2 separate regions of the Homo sapiens genome follow, and region 1 is linked to region 2. Evidence: promoter capture Hi-C in 16 types of primary human blood cells and fetal thymus (Javierre and others, 2016). All regions are on one chromosome and are shown on one strand. The core of a region is centred on a gene start or on the middle of the fragment in contact, and the rest is flanking DNA. Distances in the headings are between cores, read along the strand shown.

Region 1 (4,145 bases), core at 609-3,108, 280 kb before region 2:
TGGCCGAGTAGTTTTGAAATTTTTTCTGAGATGGGTGTCACTCTTGTTGCCCAGGCTGGTCTCAAACGATCCTCCTTATCTAAAAGATACAACAGAAAATTAGAAGTTTCAAAATAATTTTACTTATATAATTTTTATTCTTAAAGTAGCTTTATTGAGATATAATTCAGATACCATACAATTCATTCATCTAAAGTGTATATTTAGTGGCTTTTAGCATACTCAGAGTTGTTTATCCATTACCATAACCAATTTTAGAGCATTTTCGTTACCCCCAAAAGAAATCCCATAACCTGTAGCTATCACTCACCAATCACCAGTCCTTTCTACCCACCCACCATGCCACCAGCTCTAGGTGACCCACTAATCTATTTTCTCTCTATATATACTTGCCTACTTTTGACATTTTATATAAATCGAGTCATATAATATGTGGTATTTTGTGACTGACCTCTTTCACTTAGCATAATGTTTTCAGAGTTCATTTTTGTTGTAGCATGTATCAGTACTTAATTTCTCTTTATTGTTTTTGTTCCTTTTTTTCTAGGATTTTGACACTTCATGACATGTCATTATTTAGAGCAATAATGAATATTGACCTGTTTTGGATTAGTTGATGACCTTCGGAAATGATCCAATAATATCTACTATAGAGAAGCTGAATATACTCCATTTGGAGTGAACAGCCCGGATTGTTACAGAATTTTCAAGATGACAGATCCAATGATGGACTTTTTTGATGATGCCAATCTTTTTGGTGAGACCTTAGAAGGTTTGTCAGATGATGCATTTGTACAACCAGGACCTGTTTCACTAGTTGATGAATTGAATTTGGGTGCAGAATTTGAACCGTTGCACATAGATTCACTGAACCATGTTCAAGGTACTCCAACACATCAGAAGATGACTGATTTTGAACAGTTAAATCAATTTGATTCAATAAAATTTCACCATGTTAATCAATCTTTTGGTAGCCCAGCTGAACATGTGTTATCTCCACACTCTCAGTTTAATTGTTCTCCAATCCATCCCCAAAACCAACCCAATGGTTTGTTTCCAGATGTATCAGATGGCAGTCCAATGTGGGGCCATCAGACAGCTACTACCATTTCAAATCAAAATGGATCTCCTTTTCACCAACAAGGACATTCACACTCTATGCATCAAAATAAAAGCTTTGTGGCACACCATGACTTTGCCTTATTTCAGGCCAATGAACAACAAACACAGTGTACTTCACTACGCTCACAACAAAACAGAAATAATCTCAACCCAGGGCAGAATTCTCTTAGCCAGTCTAAAAATTTTATGAATGTTTCTGGTCCACATAGAGTCAATGTTAACCACCCACCACAGATGACTAATGCATCTAATTCACAACAGTCTATTTCAATGCAGCAATTTTCTCAAACGTCAAATCCTTCAGCACACTTCCACAAGTGTAGCAGTCATCAAGAAGGAAATTTTAATGGACCTTCCCCAAATATGACTTCTTGTTCTGTCAGTAATTCACAGCAATTTTCTTCACATTATTCCTTTTCCAGTAATCATATATCACCAAACAGTCTACTTCAGTCCTCTGCAGTTCTTGCATCTAATCATACAAATCAGACTTTATCTGATTTTACTGGAAGTAATTCCTTTTCACCTCATAGAGGAATCAAGCAAGAATCTACTCAGCATATCCTAAACCCCAATACATCATTGAATTCAAATAATTTCCAAATATTGCATTCATCACATCCTCAGGGTAATTATAGCAATTCAAAATTATCTCCTGTGCACATGAACTTCCCAGATCCTGTTGACTCAGGAACTCAAATGGGCCATTTCAATGATCATGTAGAAACTAATGGCTTTTCATCTTTAGAAGAGAATTTACTTCATCAAGTGGAATCTCAAACTGAGCCATTCACAGGACTTGACCCCGAGGACCTCCTTCAGGAGGGTCTTCTTCCTCACTTTGATGAGTCAACATTCGGACAAGATAATTCAAGTCACATTTTAGATCATGACCTTGATCGGCAGTTTACTTCGCATCTGGTAACACGGCCTTCTGATATGGCTCAGACTCAGTTGCAAAGTCAGGCTCGGAGTTGGCATTCATCATTTTCTAATCATCAGCATTTACATGACAGAAATCACCTATGTTTACAGCGACAGGTATGTAGCTCTTTGCTTTTATTTTGGAGATTTGGGGGTAGGGCGGACTGTTAGTCATTGGGTTAATTTTATATGAAACATAGTCAAGATTTCTCAAACTTGGTAATTCCATTAAGTGAACATACATATTTTGATATAGGTTTATATTGTTTTACAAGTCTTGTATTGAAAGTGATTCACTGATATGCTCAAAGCAATAGATTAGCTTCTATATTTAGAAAATTATAAGGTGTTAAGACTTCTTTTGTGATGTTTATGAATACCTTTGAGAGAAAGTTATTTTATCAAAAACAACTTAATAATCATAATTAAAAGGGAAAAACCAGACTGGGAAAATTTTATTGCAAATACAATTAACATTGAGTTAATATTCCTATAAAAAGCTTTATAAATTAGCAAACTTTTAAGACCTCAGTTGATAACTAGATAAAACATATAAGCTGAAATTCACAAAAAGGAAATTAAATTAGTAAACAAAACCAGAATAATATGCAGCTTTAATAATAAAAAATAAATTTAGAATGGTTTTATTTTTACCTATTAGAAAAACATGTTAAATGTTAATGCTTAATGCTGACAAATTTATGGTGAAATTGGTACCTACATGGCTTTGTTAATTAATGCAAATATTTTGAAAAGCAATTTGGTACTAGATTAAAGAATATAAAAATTCTCCATTTTAATAACCCAGACATAGCAGAAGTATATACCCAAAGATATTTGTCTTAATATACTTACAAGGGACAGCTGAAAAAAGCATAGCTCATTATTGTAATCACGATAGACCATAGGCACTAAAAAGATTTTGAACACTAACATTGAGAATATGTTAATGATGGAGAAAAGAGCGTAATTCAAAATTAAGATCACAGTGAAGTAAGGTTAAGAGTGTGGCCTTTGATACCAGACTACCTGGTTTAGAATTGTGGGTCCTGTTACTTAGTAGTTGGGTGACTTTGACTTAGATAATTTCCGTGCGTCTCTTTTTCCTCATCTTTAAAATGTGAAATAATAAAGGATTAATAGATTTATAACATGTAAACATGCTTAGACTATGCCTAGCATATAGTTAGAAATTAATACTTTTTTTTGTTTTTTTTTAATTTTTCTTTTGAGACAGGGTCTCACTCTGTCACCCAGTTTGAAGTGCAGTGGCACCATCAGGGCTCACTGCAGCCTCAACCTCCCTGGGCTCAGGTGATCCTCCTGCCTCAGCCTCCTGGGTAGCTGGGACTATAGGCATGTGCCACCATGCCTGGCTTTTTTTGTATTTTTTGTAAAGATGTGATCTTGCCATGTTGCCTGGGCTAATCTTGAGCTCCTGTACTCAACCAGTCCACTCTCCTCGGCCTCCCAAAGTGCTGGGATTATAGACGTGAGACACTCTGCCCAGTCTTAAGTGTTTTTATTAATTATACTTTTTTTCATAGTAGTATGAAAATATGTATATGGGCCAGTTATGTTAGCTTATGCCTGTAATCCCAGCACTTTGGGAGATTGAGGTGAGAGGATTGCTTGAGACCAGGAATTCCAGACCAGCCTGGACCATGTAACGATACTCTGTCTCTACAATAAATACATTTTTAAAAAATTAGCCAGGTATGATGGTGCACTCCTGTAGTCCCAGCTACTCAAGAGGCTGAGGTGAGCAGATAGCTCAAACCCAGGAGTTCCAGGCTGAGGTAAGCCATGATCACACCACTGCCAGTCTAGGCATTAGAATCAGACCCTCTGAGAAAAAAAGAAAATTTGTATATGAAAAAAATACCAGAAGAAAATAGGTTTAAGTAGTGCAGTTTTTCCCTTACTTTCTACAATTTTGTCGTGAACATATTACTTTTATAATAAAAAATTAATGTAATATTTTATGTTTTTAAAAATTCTCTTGTTAAATTAAGGATTCATAAAATGCTTCAATACCTTGGTTACCTGTGAGATTCTGTGGACAATGAAATATACCAAAGTTCTTGAAATTAAATATT
Region 2 (3,704 bases), core at 214-2,713:
GCAAAACAGTAATGCCTTCTGAATCCTCAAATTGCTCAATCCTCAGATTGCTCCTCAATCTGGAAAATGTTTTATATCAAGCCCATTTATAAATCAAGGATTGGCAATTTAAAAAATTAAAATAAAGAAAGGAGAATTGGAAATAAAATGAATTGGCTGGGCACGGTGGCTCACGCCTGTAATCCCAGAACTTTGGGAGGCCGAGGTGGGTGGATCACTTGAGGTCAGGAGTTCGAGACCAGCCTGGCCAACATGGTGAAACCCTGCCTGTACTGAAAATACAAAAATTAGCTGGGTGCGGTGGCGCACACCTGTAATCCCAGATACTCAGGAGGCTGAGGCAGGAGAATCGCTTGAACCCAGGAGGCGGAGGTTGCAGTGAGCCGAGATCGTGCCACTACACTCCAGCCTGGGCAACAGAGCCAGACTCTGTCTCAAAAAAAAAAAAAAAGTTTAATTCACGCAGAGCCAGCTGAACGGCAGACAGGAGTTTGGTTATTCAAATCAGCCTACCAGAAAATTCGGAGACTGGGGTTTTTAAAGAATGACTTGGCGGGTAGGGGGCCAGGGATTGGCGAATGCTAATTTGTCAGGTGGGAGGTGAAATCACAGGGGGTTGAAGTGGGCTCTTGCTGTCTTCTGTTACTGAGTGGAATTGCAGAACTTGTTGAGCCAGATTATGGTCTGAGTGGCGCCAGCTAGTGCATCGGAATGCGCGGTCTGAAAAGTATCTCCAGCACCAATCTTAGGTTTTACAATAGTGATGTTATCCCTGAGAGCAATTGGGGAGGTCAGGAATCTTATAGCCTCTGGCTGCAAGCCTCCTAAATCATAATTTCTAATCTTGTGGCTAATTTGTTAGTTCTACAAAGGCAGACTGATCCCCAGGCAAGAATGGGGTTTGTTTTTGGAAAGGACTGTTACAATCTTTGTTTCAAAGTGAAATTAGAAATTAAATTCCTCCTGTAGTTAGTTAGGTCTTCGCCCAGGAATGAACAAGGGCAGCTCGGAAGTGAGAAGCGTGGAGTCATTTAGGTCAGATCCCTTGCACTGTCATAACTTTCTCACTGTTAGGATTTTTGCAAAGGCAGTTTCGTGAACGTACAGAGACAGGCCCTTGCTATTATCCCTATTTTTTAGATAAGGATATCCAGGCGATGAGGAAGTTTTACTTCTGGGAACAGCCTGGATACGAAACCTTCACACGTCAGTGTCTTTTGGACATTTTCTCGTCAGTACAGCCCTGTTGAATGTTCTCACGGTGGGGAGGTACGTGTTTAAAATGCGGGGAAGGTGCTTTTATTTCACCCCTGGTGAAACTAGGGGAGCTAATTTTTTTAAACATGATTTTTGGCCCCCTTGAACCGCCGGCCTGGACTACGTTTCCCAGCAGCCCGTGCTCAAGACTACGGGTGCCTGCAGGCGGTCAGCGTCGTTTGCGGCGGCGCAGGCGCGGTGCGGGCGGCGGACGGGCGGGCGCTTCGCCGTTTGAATGGCTGCGGGCCCGGGCCCTCACCTCACCTGAGGTCCGGCCGCCCAGGGGTGCGCTATGCCGTCGGGAGGTGACCAGTCGCCACCGCCCCCGCCTCCCCCTCCGGCGGCGGCAGCCTCGGATGAGGAGGAGGAGGACGACGGCGAGGCGGAAGACGCCGCGCCGCCTGCCGAGTCGCCCACCCCTCAGATCCAGCAGCGGTTCGACGAGCTGTGCAGCCGCCTCAACATGGACGAGGCGGCGCGGGCCGAGGCCTGGGACAGCTACCGCAGCATGAGCGAAAGCTACACGCTGGAGGTGCGCTCGCGGGCGGAGGGGCGCTTCCGGCCTAGTTGGCGTGAACCGGTGCCTTCCGAGCCGCGTCGCGCGCCTCGAGAGACTCTCGGGCGGGTTGCGGGCTCCCAGCCCCGAGAGGGGTGGGGACTTCCTCTGCGCTATTCCGAGGCTCTTAGCCGCTCCGAGGGCTAACCCGCTCTCGCCGCGCTTTCCTGCGGCTTCCGAATGGGGAACGCGTCTTGCCCTAAAGTAGCACAGCAAGGCTGAGATCGCGCTGGGGTCCCGTTGAGGAAAATGGGTGTGTGTGGCCCATCTGACCCCCCGCCCGCCTTGTTAGTAGAATGAACTAGTGTCGTTGTCAAGACCACACGGACAAGGGGAGGGGACTTGCCCTTATTTGCACCGCGATTAACCGGGTTGTGGCACCTGGGTCTCCAGGCGTCTCCGTCTGTTCGCTTCCCCCTGTTAACCAAATTGCCTTTGCCCTGGCGTTGCGGGCGTTTGAGTCAACGTGCTGATGCGTTTTGGGCTGTGTTTACGTCTGTGTAAACAAATTAATACTCATTTCCCCCCAGGCCAGATGAAATGAGCCCTCCGCCGACCCGGATGTAGACACATGCCCCCATTTGTCACTAGGATCAGGACTGTGGCTACCTCGAGGGCTTTTTGGTCACCCCGGGCATTGCACAGGACTCCTGTTGTTGTTGCGATCCGGGTGTGTTAGGTCGCAGCCTTCGGACAGGGCTTGCAGATGAGAAAAATGGCCATTCTAGCCAGTGAGTGTCAGCTTTGTATGCACCTCCCCTTCATGGGCCAATGGGAAGTGACACGGAAGTACGGATTGTTTATCAGCTGTTTGACTGTGTGTGTGGCATTTAAACCTGAGGCCATTTGATTTCTCAAGTCGTTTTATAATTAATTTGTAGAAAGAGTCGGGCAAATAGGTCCAGGATGCAAAGCCTAACCAAGGTATTATTTAAATATGATGTTTTTGGCTATGTGTACTGATGAGTGAGGTTATTTTTAATTTGTATTTGCATTAATAGAATTTTAATTCAATTACTAGTTCCCTCTTTGAATTGTTAGGTCTGCAGAAGATAGTGTATGGTGGCTTTAGAACCCGACAGACCTGAAACCGCTGGAAAAGTTCAGTATGGTGATCTCTAAACTGGAGATATTTGTGTTTACCTCACAGAGCTGTTCTGAAGATTAAATAAGGCAATAATGTAGTTTCTGGCACATAAAGCACCCATATGGACAGTGTTTTCAAGTTTACTAAGCTCTTTGTATATTTACATGATCTGGCTGAGTAAGCTATGTTCCTATTCATCTCTCAGTGCCTTTCTGTAGTCTGGCAAAGAGAAGGACTGGTTGGCTTTTTATGTTGTTTTTTGTTTTTTGGGTTTTTTTTTGGTAAATGGCCTTAAAGGCTTCCAAACAAGCTCTTATTTTACCCTCAAGATAATCCTGTAAATCAGATAGAACAAGCATTATCGCCATTTATTTGAGGTATTTCAACTCATAGCAGTTAAGTTGTATGAAGTCTAGTGATACATGAGCAAGTATCACGTAATAGCTGGTTAGTAAATTATTTTTGAAAACATGTTTGATTACTCAATTCTTTTGATTACTGAGACTTTAGTTTCAGCTTCTTAGCCCAGTTTATTCAGTAAATGATTTACTCAGTAAAATATTCATCAAATATTTCTTGAGCACCTATTACTTGCTACACATTGTTCTAGGTGCTGGATATAGAGCAGCAAACCTGCTCTTGTGGGGCTTACAGTGAGGTACGCTGTGACAATATGGGATGTCATTCTCATGGGAGTGCAAGGGAAAATAAAGCTCTTATGATGTTTAATACAGAATACTGGTTATGGAATTTTAACTTGATTTCTTGTATTTTCTGTGCATTTTTAACCTGTAACTCATTCTC

Evidence for each region. The method cuts DNA at HindIII sites, captures the fragments that hold promoters and counts their contacts. A CHiCAGO score of 5 or more calls a contact.
Region 1: a contact is called between a fragment that was not itself captured here and the fragment with the promoter of RBL2 in region 2, in 5 of 17 cell types (neutrophils, naive CD8 T cells, non-activated CD4 T cells and 2 more). The highest score is 10.5, in neutrophils.

Annotation. Positions count from the first base shown.
Region 1 is chr16:53,155,379-53,159,523 of GRCh38, forward strand. CHD9 (chromodomain helicase DNA binding protein 9) reads left to right here. Exons shown (of 39, transcript NM_001308319.2): 2 at 548-2,163. The coding sequence starts at 712. Among named protein-coding and RNA genes, the nearest start is that of CHD9, 100 kb to the left of the region's middle. The HindIII fragment of the contact is 1,371 bases long and covers 1,174-2,544 here.
Region 2 is chr16:53,433,008-53,436,711 of GRCh38, forward strand. It overlaps RBL2 (RB transcriptional corepressor like 2), which reads left to right and starts at 1,464. Exons shown (of 22, transcript NM_005611.4): 1 at 1,464-1,789. The coding sequence starts at 1,550. RefSeq lists a silencer at 1,519-1,738 and an enhancer at 2,349-2,458. The HindIII fragment of the contact is 5,814 bases long and covers 1-3,704 here.